Regions from separate parts of the Homo sapiens genome. Here regions 2, 3, 4 and 5 are each linked to region 1. The links are contacts of gene promoters, found by promoter capture Hi-C in human tissues and cell types (Jung and others, 2019). All regions are on one chromosome and are shown on one strand. The core of a region is centred on a gene start or on the middle of the fragment in contact, and the rest is flanking DNA. Distances in the headings are between cores, read along the strand shown.

The links. Contacts are between HindIII fragments. The study calls those that stand out against the background at their distance.
Region 2: a fragment that was not itself captured here is called in contact with the fragment with the promoter of CTAGE1 in region 1 in 4 of the 25 tissues and cell types used here (H1 embryonic stem cells, IMR-90 fibroblasts, aorta and 1 more).
Region 3: a contact is called between a fragment that was not itself captured here and the fragment with the promoter of CTAGE1 in region 1, in 1 of the 25 tissues and cell types used here (heart left ventricle).
Region 4: a fragment that was not itself captured here is called in contact with the fragment with the promoter of CTAGE1 in region 1 in 2 of the 25 tissues and cell types used here (heart left ventricle and heart right ventricle).
Region 5: a fragment that was not itself captured here is called in contact with the fragment with the promoter of CTAGE1 in region 1 in 6 of the 25 tissues and cell types used here (aorta, bladder, heart right ventricle and 3 more).

Annotation. Positions count from the first base shown.
Region 1 is chr18:22,416,536-22,419,235 of GRCh38, reverse strand. It overlaps CTAGE1 (cutaneous T cell lymphoma-associated antigen 1), which reads left to right and starts at 1,321. Exons shown (of 1, transcript NM_172241.3): 1 at 1,321-2,700. The coding sequence starts at 1,425. It also overlaps the pseudogene ATP7BP1. The HindIII fragment of the contact is 3,989 bases long and covers 668-2,700 here.
Region 2 is chr18:22,175,649-22,178,348 of GRCh38, reverse strand. GATA6 (GATA binding protein 6) reads right to left here. Exons shown (of 7, transcript NM_005257.6): 3 at 1,228-1,394. Among named protein-coding and RNA genes, the nearest start is that of GATA6, 7.4 kb to the right of the region's middle. RefSeq lists an enhancer at 1-47. The HindIII fragment of the contact is 4,632 bases long and covers 1-2,700 here.
Region 3 is chr18:22,562,890-22,565,589 of GRCh38, reverse strand. All of the region lies in intron 2 of LOC124904265 (a long non-coding RNA gene), which reads right to left. Among named protein-coding and RNA genes, the nearest start is that of CTAGE1, 150 kb to the right of the region's middle. The HindIII fragment of the contact is 4,164 bases long and covers 1-2,700 here.
Region 4 is chr18:22,283,149-22,285,848 of GRCh38, reverse strand. No RefSeq gene overlaps it. Among named protein-coding and RNA genes, the nearest start is that of GATA6, 110 kb to the right of the region's middle. The HindIII fragment of the contact is 6,589 bases long and covers 1-2,700 here.
Region 5 is chr18:22,201,188-22,203,887 of GRCh38, reverse strand. It overlaps GATA6 (GATA binding protein 6), which reads right to left. Exons shown (of 7, transcript NM_005257.6): 7 at 1,360-2,700. Among named protein-coding and RNA genes, the nearest start is that of GATA6, 33 kb to the right of the region's middle. The HindIII fragment of the contact is 7,031 bases long and covers 1-2,700 here.

The sequences.
Region 1 (2,700 bases), core at 72-2,571:
TGCACATGCTGCAAAGCATGCATGTGAACGTGATTCTGATCACGGGGGACAACTGGAAGACAGTCAGAGCCTTTGCCACCCAGGTTGGCATCAACAAAGTCTTTGCAGAGGTGTTGCCTTCACACAAGGTGACCAAGGTTCAGGAGCTCCTGAATGAAGGGAAGAAAGTCGCCATGGTGGGGGACGGGGTCAATGATTCCCTGGCCTTGGCCCAGGCAGACTTGGGCATTGCCACTGGCACTGGCACGGATGTGGTCATCGAGGCAGCCAACGTCATCCTCATCAAAAATGATTTGCTGGATGTGGTGGCTAGCATTCATATTTCCAAGATGACTGTCCAGAGGATATGCATCAAACTGGTCCTGGCGCTGATTTATAACCTAGTGGGCATACCCATTGCTGCAGGAGCAAGCTTTCCAGATGAGTTGAAGATATGTGCATGGGCGGGAGATGATGACTTATTGCAGGGCAAGGCGTCATCCGTGTTGAAGGAGTGCCAGTGTTTCAGAAATGGACACAGAGCAGGTAAGTTTGATGGACAGGTAAGAGAATCACTCTCTATGTGCCAGCACTGTTCTAAGAGTCCTGGATCTTCTGGGGATGAGATTAGCGTTTTTCAGTTGTACATGGGACAGCTGAGGCTCATGCTAGGGAGTGGTGAGCCCTTTCCTGGAAGAAGTTAATCTAAAAAGCATAATCTGTCTCATTTGGGAGGAGCTAAATAAATATCTCTTCAATGAAGCAAAGGTCAATCAGAAAATTTGTATTTTAGCTATAAAATTACCTATCAGAATTTACCATAGGGCATAATCTTAGTCAAGCACCCAAATTCATTATTTCAGCCACAGATACTGAAACACCAAAGGGATAAGGGGGCAGGTATTTCAGTTAGCTACTGCTGCATAACAAATGACCCCAAAGCTTAGTGACTTAAAACAATGATTTGTTATTCCTTATCATTCTGTCAGCTGGGAGGTTCTTCTGCCCGCCCCACCTGGGGTCATGCACAAGGCTACATTTAGCTAGGGTGTCAGCTTGGGATGGGCATAGCTGGGATGCTGGGTCACCTGAGTCTTTCTCACCATGTGGTACTGTTTTAAAATATAGGTTTTAGCGCTTCCTCAGGATGTAAAGTGTAACAAAGGTACCGGGGTGGGCAGTGTGGGTCTGTGAGGCCTACGGGTGCCCGCGTCCCCTAACTCCCCCCGCAGCCGGCTCCGCAGTGGTACGCTCCGGTTGCCCGTTAGGGATTCAGGTTCCAAACGGAATGCTGCGTCTTCTCCAGCGTTTGTTGTGGCCGAGGTTACTGCAGCAACCGCCAGAGCAGCCTTGGCGCTACGGAGGAGCCTAGGGCTAACCCTCAGCCATACCTGGGGCTGGTCCTGGAGTTGCTACGCAGGGTTGTGGCAGCACTGACTGAAGGTATGAGACCCGATTCTCATCCTTATGGTTTTCCATGGGAATTGGTGATACGTGCAGCTGTTGCTGGATTTTTTGCTGTTCTCTTCTTGTGGAGAAGTTTTAGATCAGTTACGAGTCGGCTTTATGTGAGAAGAGAGAAAAAGTTTGCTGTGGCACTTTCTGGACTAATTGAAGAAAAATGTAAACTACTTGAAAAATTTAGCCTTGTTCAAAAAGAGTATGAAGGCTATGAAGTAGAGTCATCTTTAAAGAATGCCAGCTTTGAGAAGGAGGCAACAGAAGCACAAAGTTTGGAGGCAACCTGCGAAAAGCTGAACAGGTTCAATTCTGAACTTGTGCATGAAATACTCTGTCTAGAAAAAGAGTTAAAAGAAGAGAAATCTAAACATTCTGAACAAAATGAATTGATGGCGGATATTTCCAAAAGGATACAGTCGCTAGAAGATGAGTCAAAATCCCTCAAATCACAAGTAGCTGAAGCCAAAATGACCTTCAAGAGATTTCAAGCGAATGAAGAACGGTTGGAGATAGAAATACAAGATGCTTGGAAAGAAAATTCTGAACTTCAGGAAAGCCAGAAACAGCTTTTGCAAGAAGCTGAAGTATGGAAAGAACAAGTGAGTGAACTTATTAAACAGAAAAGAACATTTGAAGACTCCAAAGTACATGCAGAACAAGTTCTAAATGATAAAGAAAATCACATCAAGACTCTGACTGAACGCTTGCTAAAGATGAAAGATGGGGTTGCTATGCTTGAAGAAGATGTAACGGATGATGATAACTTGGAATTAGAAATGAACAGTGAATCGGAAGATGGTGCTTACTTAGATAATCCTCCAAAAGGAGCTTTGAAGAAACTGATTCATGCTGCTAAGTTAAATGCTTCCTTAAAAACCTTAGAAGGAGAAAGAAACCAAATTTATATTCAATTATCTGAAGTTGATAAAACAAAGGAAGAGCTTACAGAGCATATTAAAAATCTTCAGACTGAACAAGCATCTTTGCAGTCAGAAAACACACATTTTGAAAGTGAGAATCAGAAGCTTCAGCAGAAACTTAAAGTAATGACTGAATTATATCAAGAAAATGAAATGAAACTCTACAGGAAATTAATAGTAGAGGAAAAATGCCGGTTAGAGAAAGAAGAGAAACTTTCTAAAGTAGACGAAATGATCAGCCATGCCACTGAAGAGCTGGAGACCTACCGAAAGCGAGCCAAAGATCTTAAAGAATTTGAGAAAACTATTCATTTTTATCAAAAGAAGATTATTCTCCATG
Region 2 (2,700 bases), core at 80-2,579, 240 kb after region 1:
CTCTCTCCGGCTAGGAAGCACACATAACAATGACAATACGAGATTAATCCCTGAAATCAGGATTCCCTTACTTTAAAACATGGTGGCCGGGCGCGGTGGCTCACGCCTGTAATCCTAGCACTTCGGGAGGCCGAGGCGGGCGGGATCACATGAGATCGGGAGTTCGAGACCAGCCTGACCTACATGGAGAAACCCTGTCTCTACTAAAAATACAAAAAAATGAGCCGGGCGTGGTGGCACATGCCTGTAATCCCAGCTACTCGGGAGGCTGAGGCAGGAGAATCGCTTGAACCCTGGAGGCGGAGGCTGCGGTGAGCCGAGATCGCGCCATTGCACTCCAGCCTGGGCAACAAGAGTGAAACTCCGTCTCAAAAAAAAAAAAAAAAAAAAAAAAAACAAAAAAACAGTAAAACGTGTGCGAATTGGGGAAAATGCTCAACTTAAGAACATACAAACCACACTTTTACTCAAGTTCTACAAAGTTCTCTGATTTTGAAATAACAAAAGTTAGAGCAAATAAATTTTCACCAGGCTCAAGGGCAATCCAAGATATGGTATTTGGGGATACACCTGAGGATAAGAGGTAGAAGTGACCAAGAAGGTGGAAAGGACAAAGTAAACGGCACCCAAAAGAATGTGGCTGTGAGGAGGCGTGAGTGGGTGGATTTCTGGCATATTCTATTTGGGGGACGAATGGTATAAGTGAGCATGGTTTTTCAAGCATAAAATCTAAACCATACACAGTGAAAAAAGTCTTCCTTCGCCCGGCCTCGGTAGGTCTACTGTTTTTCTCCTCGGGTTACCATCACCAATTTCTTGCCTATCTTACCAGAATTATTACGGTGCTTTGGCAAGTACACCTAGAGATATATAGATTATTTTTTCTTTTTTTGCTTAAAACATGGTAACATTTTGCACCTTCCTTTTTTGTTTGTTTTTGTTTTTGTCATTTACGGACGTCATCCCCTGCGCGTAAACATGGGGAAAGGCTATCTTGGCTTCCCAGAGGCCAGTTTCGGGGTAACTTCTACTTGGGCGCCAGCGGGTGGGCGTTGGAACAGCCGGGACAGGATGGTACCGCTGGGTCCCCGCTAGGGTGGGACCGCAGCGGCCGCACCTGTCCCCTGGGAGGGGGACGCCCAAGGCAGGCCGAGCCAGGGCGGGGCCGGCCGGGCCAGGAGAGCCCGGGGCCGGCCGCGAGCCAGGGGCAGGGCGGGTCACACTCACCACGCGCTTCTGCGGCTTGATGAGGGGCCGGCTGAGGCCGTTCATCTTGCTGTAGAGCCCGCAGGCGTTGCACAGGTAGTGGCCGGTGCCGTCCCGCCGCCACAGCGGCGTCTGGATGGAGCCGCAGTTCACGCACTCGCGGCTCTCGGACAGGTCCTCCAGCAGGTCTGCGGCGACAGCGGTGCGTGAGGGCGGGAGTGGGCGCGCCGGACCCGTCCCTCCCCGCGTCACCCCGGGGACCCCGGCCCCCAGCCCCGGTGCCCGGCTTCCCTGCCCGTGCCCTTCCCGGCTGAGCTTTTCTCCTTGGCCGCAAAGCCAGGAGCAGGGTTATTTCGTCACTATTGCTCCACTGACCATTTGTCCAATACTTCTGCACACCCGGAGCGCCCCAGTAGAGACTCCGGGAAAGAGACAGTGCTGGAAGCAGAGGACGTCAGAGTCCGAGATGAGCGGTGGGGAGGTCGGCTTGAGTCCCCTGACCCCTACTCTCAGGCTGTCCCGGAGCTTTTAAAGACTGAAATCCATCATCATTACAGTACGTCGTTGCCAAACCCGAGCAAGCCACACAGAAATACTGACCACTGAGCCCCGCTGCAACCCACAAATATCCGGGGACACAGCGAGGCTGCCTCATTAACTTTTATCTCAAGTAATTTTAAAAAGTATTTTCTACATCTGCCACCCGTCCATATGTGCCTCTTCTCCAATTAAAGATACACAAGTGAAATTAAAAGTACTATTCTTAGGCACCTACGTTAGTTAGAAACTAGAAATGAGAAGATTACTCTCATCTTTTCAGGGGAAAAATGCACTAACGTTAAGCACAGAGTTTTATTTTCATGCCACAAAGATCAAATGCTAAAATCCCGATTTAGAAGTGGGTCCAACTGCTTCTATCTGCAAAATTTTTATAAAAGGTTGATACCTTACTGATTGAGAAAATTACCAAGACCTTCCCAGTGATCATTTTGAGTTAGCAATCGATTTAAAATGTGTTTATTTTACATAATTTTATTATTATTATTCTTTGGTTAGTTTTCAGAATTCACAATAACCTAAACCTGCTAATAAAAACAAATCCTAATTAAGAGTAAATGTAACATTTATTACTTCTCAAGAAGGTTAAATATGGAAGAATAAATGTCTCTAAAAATGAGAAAGGTACTTATTGTAAGTATAGACCAAAAAAAAGTATAGACCGCCATTTAAGGTTCTTTAGATTATAGAAGGTTTAAATGTCCTAGTTCTGCATTATTGAAGAAGCATTCCTGAATCACTTTTTAAAGTAAATAAACATTACACTTCAGAGTTTTAGCTTAAGATTATGTGCTGGTGAACCTTTTGGTTCTTTCTCATCCCCTTGCAGTTTATTGCTTGTGTCTACTATCAACTGTGTGGTAACGATATTTAAATATGACTTTAGCATAAAAACTTTAATTCCATTAATACTATTTACAAAACAAGTCTCTTTTC
Region 3 (2,700 bases), core at 68-2,567, 150 kb before region 1:
AAATTTAGCATATATTTATTGAGTACCTACCACATGTGACCCTGTGCTGATGCTAGGATGCCATGGGAGGTGGTAGAGAATATAAAGGTAAGTAAACCAAAGCTCACAGTTTCAATTTAAAATAGTTCTGTGTAAAATTATTAAATTACTCTTTAATTACTCCAGCAATTCCCAGCAGTCTTTTTTAAACAAATATAGCCTCAAGCCTCTTGCAGAGATGCTTTTACTTCTTACATATTTATATTTATTTTTATTGTGCATTTAAAAAATATTTTTCCCAAGTATCTATTGACGGATGAATGGACAAACAAAACAAAGTGTAATACACACACACACACACACACACACACACACACACAGACAAACACAGGAATATTATTTAGCGTTTAAAATGAAGGAAATTCTGACATGCTGCAACATGGATTAACCTTGAAAATATGCTAAGTGAAACATGCCAGTAACAAAGGGGCAAATAGTGTTTGATTCCACTTATATGAGGCACCTACAGTGGTCAAATTCGTAAAGGCAAAAAGTAGAATAGTAGTTGCCAGGGGCTGAGGGTAGGGGAGAATGAGAAATTATTAGATAGTGGAGACAGAGTTTGTTTGGGAAGATTTTTTAAAGTTCTGGAAATAGATGCTGGGGATAGTTGCTCAATTATGTGAATGTACTTAATGCCACAAAATTGTACACTTAAAACACTTAAAATGGGCCAGGCACAGTGGCTCACGCCTGTAATCCCAGTACTTTGGGAGGCAAAAGTGGGCGGATCATGAGGTCAGGAGTTTGAGACCAGCCTGGCCAATATGGTGAAACCCCGTCTCTACTACAAAATGCAAAAATTAGTTGGGCGCTGTGGCGCGTACCTGTAGTCCCAGCTACTTGGGAGGCTGAGGCAGGAGAATTGCTGGAACCCAGGAGGTGGAAGTTGCAGTGAGTTGAGAGCTCGCCACTGCATCATTCCAGCCTGGGTGACAGAGCGAGACTCTATGGGGAAAAAAAAAAAAGTTAAAATGGTAAATTTTATGTTACTTATTTCTTACAACAAGAAAAATGCTTTTTAACCAAACAGAATATAAACTCTTGTGAACAGGGCTAGGGAACTGATTTTCTCCTAATCACTAAGAAAATTCCACCTGAGAGGCAAGGGCCTAGGAGTTGGAGAGCTGGGCTCCTGTTTGGTGCCAGCTCTGTGGTTAGCTAGCTATGTGAACTCCACTCAACCTTGCCAAGCCTCAGTTTCTTCATCTTTCAAATGAGTAAGAGTGGGGAGGGGCACCGCATATCTCAGTGCTCTGATTTCCATTTAACCACAGATTTAGAACCAAGGTGGCTTGGCTTCAAATATTCAACTCCTCTGCTGGCAAATAAACAGATCTTCGGGAAACTGTACTTGTCTTCCAGAGAAAAGGTTTATTTCAGTAGGTTCTCACAGAGCAAATCTAAGCACCAACAATGTAGAGTTTTGAGAATGCAGAGTATTTCCTGAACACATAATCCTTCCCTCCTTGAAACTGTCTATGATGTAGGAATTCAGTTCCCATCCAGATTTACAGATGTAAATCTTCAGTTACCTAATAAAATGGAGAGAAGAAAATCATGTGATTATATTTTGAATCTAGTAATACTAATGAATTCAAAGCCAGACTTCATTTTAGAGGGCTTTTGTAAAAAGTTCTATTTTCCAATCTAATGCTTGGTGTTGAGTCTTGAAAATTTAAGGTAATGCAAACCCTATCATTTCCACCTCTAAAAATTCTATCAGAGTCTCTAAGAATCTATGTTTAGGCTCCTTACACAGCGGCAAACATGGAAACAATATTTATCGTCCACAACTTTCCTAGGTAGATCAAATTGTTCAACACAGAACTGGCATTCTACTGGCAAGTGCCTGGTTACCAGCTAAATAGTTGGGTACACCCAGTAGACCTGCAGATAGAGAAAGCTTTCAAGACCAGTCTGGATACAAACAATATCTGGGAATCAATTGCCTAGGACTATCTCAATGGTAGGAGAAGTCTGCCTCAAGGAAATGTGTATTGTTCTTGAAAATGCCAGACACCAGTAGGAAACACAAACACAGACTCAAAAGAAGCAGGGAATGGCAGACTGAATAAACAGCACGTGCGCACCCATTTTCCTAGGAAATATGTGTCCAAGACTGAAGAGTTGTGGTGCAGTCTTATCTGTCATTTACGTCTTAAAGATAGGTGAGTCTTGGATAATATCGTGCTTGTGCCCCACAGGAGGCTGCCAACTATTATCATAGATCATCCACTAGAGGGTGACAACCACATATGCTTAGGGATGGATGACTGTAGACACAGTGCACATTCCACAGTCCTGAGAAGAGTTTCTTGAAGCTCATCCGCCTAAGTGGTTGGACTTTCACTTTGGAGTCGCCCATAAAAAGGAGAGAGGGAAACTATACATCTTTTCCATACTTATGGCCTAGGTTGTCTCTCCTTTTCAGACTTAGTTAAGAAAAAATTAAATATATATACGAATTTTTTGTAAGTAGAAGGAACACCTCCTATCACATTAAATAGGAGGTGAGTATCTCTAACAGTTGGGAGAAGGACATGCTGAGATTTTTTCCTATTACTATTATGGATCTTTGGGACAGTTTCAGTAAGTACTTTCAGGGGGTACTTGGTTTTTCCAACTTGAAAATGGGGGCTATTCATTATAAATCTTAGA
Region 4 (2,700 bases), core at 172-2,671, 130 kb after region 1:
ATTATAAATTCTGTATCTAGCTAAAATTTTTTTTCAAAAGTAGCGTATCATCTTCCACTTTCAAATCCTGCTCTCTTCCTCTTTTATTCTAAAAAAATACCCCAAATTAGTGACACCCCCATCCACTCAGTTGCCTAATCAAGATACCCGGAAGTCATCCTGGACTTCCCCTTCCCCTCACTTCCCACTCCCAGCAGTCACAAGTCCTGCTGAGTTAACCTATAATTCTTTTCTCCTCCAATGAAAATATATATTCAATCAACAGTATCCCATGGCCTCCAGGCTGGAGGTCAAAGTCTCCATGATCAGCCTTTCTTTCTAGGCTATTTGCCCACCATTCCCAGATTTACACATTCCATTCTGGCAAAGTGAATTCCCCATGGTTGCCCAATGACCCTGCTGTTTCTCACTTCCATGCCTTTCTCATGCCAGGAGCCCTCCCCAACCCAGTCACTACTTTTGGCACATAAGTTCTTTCAGGTGCCCATTATCATTCCATTTTCTAGGCTGGCTTGTGACTGTCATTTATGTGTCTGTTTCCTCCCACTCTTCAGGGACTGTGTCTTGCCTCTGCATAACCAGCACCTGGCTTGGCACATAGCAGATGCTCAAGAAATATTCACCAAGTACATGGAATGAATAGTTGCATATGTAATATGTATATCTGAATAGTTCAGAAGTTAGAGATATAAAACACAACAGACAAAAGAGTAAAAACGAGAAACAAATTTGTTTTTAAAACTTTTGCATTGCTTTGGATCCAGAGCACAGAACCAGTCTTTTGTTCTTCCCACAAATCAGTGGCATAGAGCCAATACATCGGATTGCTTTTGCTTCCTGAATAATCAGAGTAAACATCTATTGCATTGCTTATTAAATGCAGGTGCTAAATGCTACAACAGGGATTGTCTCATCTAATCCACAAAATTACCCTATTAGGTAAGAACTATTGTTACATTTGAGGAAACTGAGGCTTAGTAGAATTAATATGTTATCGGTGGAGCTGGGATTTGGAATCTGATATCTGACTCAAAGTTCATGCTCTTAACCATCATAATTTCCATGGGAGTTAGGGTCAGAAGGTAGCCTATTGGTGAAAACATGTAGAGTTGAAATTAGTTTTGGAAATATCTTTTCATCAGGAATCTGTACCTTTTTGGCAGGAAGTTAGAACACATTAAAATTCATAGGCATATACTCATAGTCTGAGTCTTCCAGGCACAAGTCAAAAGCCATTTCAATCTTTTCTAAAATCTTATACATATTTAACTGGGTGTGGTGTCTCATGCCTGTAATCCCAGCACTTTGGGAGGCCGAGGCGGGCAGATCACCTGAGGTTGGGAGTTTGAGACCAGCCTGACTAACATGGTGGAACCCCGTCTCTACTAAAAATACAAAATTAGCCAGGCGTGGTGTCACATGCCTGTAATCCCAGCTACTTGGGAGGCTGAGGCAGGAGAATCTCTTGAACCTGGGAGGTGGAGGTTGCAGTGAGCTGAGATTGTGCCGTTGCACTCCAGCCTGGGCAACAAGAGCGAAACTCAGTCTCAAAAAAAAAAAAAAAAACTTATACATATCTGATGTATCTCCTTAACAATCTTTTTATTATTACTTTATTTATTGTTCTATAACAATAAATGTATTGGGGTACAGGTGGTATTTGGTTACATGAGTAAGTTCTTCAGTGGTGATTTGTGAGATCCTGGTGCACCTATCACCTGAGCAAATCAGTAAGAAAAAAACAAACGATCCTGTCAAAAAGTGGGTTAAGGACATGAATAGACAACTCTCAAAAGAAGATGTACAAATGGCCAACAAACATATGAAAAAATGCTCAACATCACTAATGATTAGGGAAATGCAAATCGAAACCACAATGTGATACCACCTTACTCCTGCAAGAATGGCCATAATCAAAAAATCAAAAAACAGTAGATGTTGGCATGGATGCGGCGATCAGGGGACACTTCTACACTGCTAGTGGGAAGGTAAACTTAGCAACCATTTTAGTACTTAATGCCACAGCTTCACGATTTTTTTTTCTCTCTCAGATCTTTATGACCCCTGTTAGACTGGGCAAACCCATAACTGTGAACCACGTTGGAAATGGACATCTCCTCTCTCAGGAAGCTCAGCATAGCCAGCTCTTACACTGGAATTGAAACTAATCACCGAGCATTACATGAAGATGATGACTCGCATGTAGGAGCCATGCTGTGTGGGGATCAAAACTGTTAGACTCACACTCAGCACAGTGAGATTACACTGAGAGCCTGTGAGAGAGCCCAATTGTGGGGCCAGCAGATTCCTATACCCCCATCCCATCTTCTTGTGGGAACTTGGACTGAGTCATAGGCCTAATTGCCAGGTCCACTTAAATGGCCCCCTCCTCACCCATGTGTGTGCCTATTTGAGTTCATGTAAGTAAATATACAGACAGAATGATACCATTGATCAGGACCCTCTCATTGCCCTGAAGTTCAGGACATCTGATATAGGCAATAATATTCATTTTCATTTTGACATCTCTCTTAGGGAAATGGCCTGACACATAGTCCTTCCTGACCTCTGACCTAAACCCCTTAATCTATGTCATAAAATGGTCTCTATCTGCCTGATTCTTCTCAGTGGTAGAGAACTGAAGCCTCAACCCCAGTGGCTCAAAAGAGGTACTTGCAATTCCTAAAACTTACATGTGCA
Region 5 (2,700 bases), core at 16-2,515, 220 kb after region 1:
ACTGTGAAAAACATTTCCCATGAGCAAGAAGTTAATTTATTTGCACTGGGAAATGAATGGTTCCCTTTGCTTTCCTGACCCTCCCATAAGCACCAGGAAACAACATTAAGTGACCCTGAAAAGAGACCCCAGACAGAGCCTTCACTTATTTAAGATGGCCTCAAATCAGCCATGTGTGACAGAAGACATAAATTCTCCAGTCCACGATATACGGTCTGGGGATTCTTTAAGCTGAGGTGCAGCATCTATTTGAATGCATTCCCTTTTGAGAAATGATTGGGTCATGTTCAGTTGCACATGTCATACTTTGGGAGAGGAGTGCTGAAATTGTGTATTTGGAGCAAATTTAACAAACTTCTTTATGCAATCATAGGTAAGAAAGTAATCATTTAAAAACAGATAGTGGAGTTCATTGTGTTAGGACAGGCTACAAGAAGCCCCCTCTGTCTTCTGCCCACTGTAATTTGTTTCATAAAAACTAGAATTCTTTTTAGAATTGGAAGGAGCAATATTTGAGATTATCCCAGAAAAAGGGTCATTTGGAAGCCCCAAAAAGAAAAATTCATTTTCCAATCAAACCATATTAACTTTAACAACTCCCAACCCACCAAAAAGCACTCAAAGTAATGAGAACCATAAAAGGAGGGAGGAAAACAGACATCAGTTCGTGGGGATAATAATTTTCTTCTGTTGTCAGAACAGCCTTGTTCTATTATAAAACAATCAGCTCTCATGCATCCTCCCTCCATTTCTGCAACCCCCTGGATTAGAGGGAGTCTTTCATTTCACTCTTCTTGGCCTTGTTGAAGAAGCACAGGTGACCCACAGGACATCACTCTTACAGACCATAAACTTCTGATATTCCAGGTAGTCAGACATTATTCAAAGGATCTATGTTGCAAATCATGCCACTCTCTTTCAAAGTCAAGTTAGTACTTAATATGTGCCAGGTATTGTGCTAAGCACTTGGCATGGACTATCTCACTTAATCCTGTGATTTATATACTATTTGCCTTTATTTTATATTAGAAAGATGAGAGCTGGATAACTTGCCCAAGGTCACAGAGCTTATCCACGGCCAAGCAGGGAATTGAAGCCTAGTGATCTGCCTGCATACCCAACACTCTTAACCATTGTTCTGGCCCACCTTATGATATCAGGGTGCACGTGGGCCTTACTGAATTACCCAGAAACACACACACACACACACACTGGCTATGGACACTGTCCCTCTATAGAGTAGCATTCACCAGGACTAAGGAAGACATTCCTTCTCTTGAAAGATTCAGACTGAACCCCATAGAATGACTGTAATAAGTGCATGAAAAGAAGTAAAAAAATACTGTACACTCAGGGAGCCACAGTTAAAGGCCATCATTCTGTATTGTGAAACACCTCCTGATTTCCTGAAATCTACTCAACAATGAAGAAAATACAAAGAGGCCACTGGAATCATTTCTACCTATCTTCTGTTGGGGGTAACGTCTGCAACCTCAGGTGAGCTTTGAGACTTCAAGGCACGTTGCAAAAGGAAAAAACTGAAAGGAAATCGCCCTGTTCGTGGGCCAGAATATATTTCATTCACAAAGAAAAAAAATCTGAACTTTCTGGAATATTTTTAAGCATTGTTCCCAAACAAAATGCTTATCATCTCAAATATAATAATACTGAGTCCTTCCCACTTATAAAAACTGTCCCCAATGCACATGGAGAGTAGTAACTAACCCCATGTGTCAACTTCAAATAAGCCAAGGTATAAAAGGTACAAAACGGCTCCAAAAGGACTATGCTTTGAAAGGAAGGCCTTAAAGCATTTTGCAAACTTCACGTGCACTTGTTTTATATGAATATCTATAGTCACATACAGCATAAAAAGAAAGCTTTGAAAAGGGAAGGAACTCACTGTACAGAAGACAAAACAATACCCTTTTTATTTTTAAAACTCTGGTGAAATAGGTTTCCATAGGACATCCCATTCAAAAAAAAAAATTAATGTAAACCAACCTGCCTGTGGGTTAGTCACACTATACAGACTTCATCAGAGTGTTTACAGATACCTAGAGTATTTACAAATGCTATCCGTTAGGTAGTAAAGTGTTGTTGCAATTTTTCCAGCACATATTCCACAGTAAAATAAAGGGGGTATATTGGTGTTCTTGTATAAAAATTCTTAACAAATAGAGAAAGGCAATTTTCCTGAGAGAAGATTTGTTCTTGAAATATTTTTCTTTAACAATTGGAAATATAAAATGGGATGTAGTTGTAAAAGAAGCATAAGAATGTCTAAGTTAACATTTTTCTTTTAAATTATTTTAAGTACCATTAAGTTAAAATGTTTACATTCATTATAAAAAATGCTGTTAAATCTTATGCAAATGATTTAACACTGATTGCTGCAACGCAAATTGCACTTTTTAAAAAAATTATTGTATACATGGAAGAAAAATATCTTGTTTGCTACCCTGTTTACAAATTCCGACTGACTTCAGATCAGCCACACAATATGAACTTTGAGAAACGTCAGTCACAGTGTATGTTAAAGTTACAATGCAGTCTTGCAAACTGAGTAATATTTTTGATAAGAGACCTCATGAACCGACTCAGCCTCCAGAGATGTGTACCAAATGGCCTCAAGTGATCTTCTCCATGAACGCACATGAAATCTGGATGTGGAAAAGGTATGAAGAAATTCTGGAACAA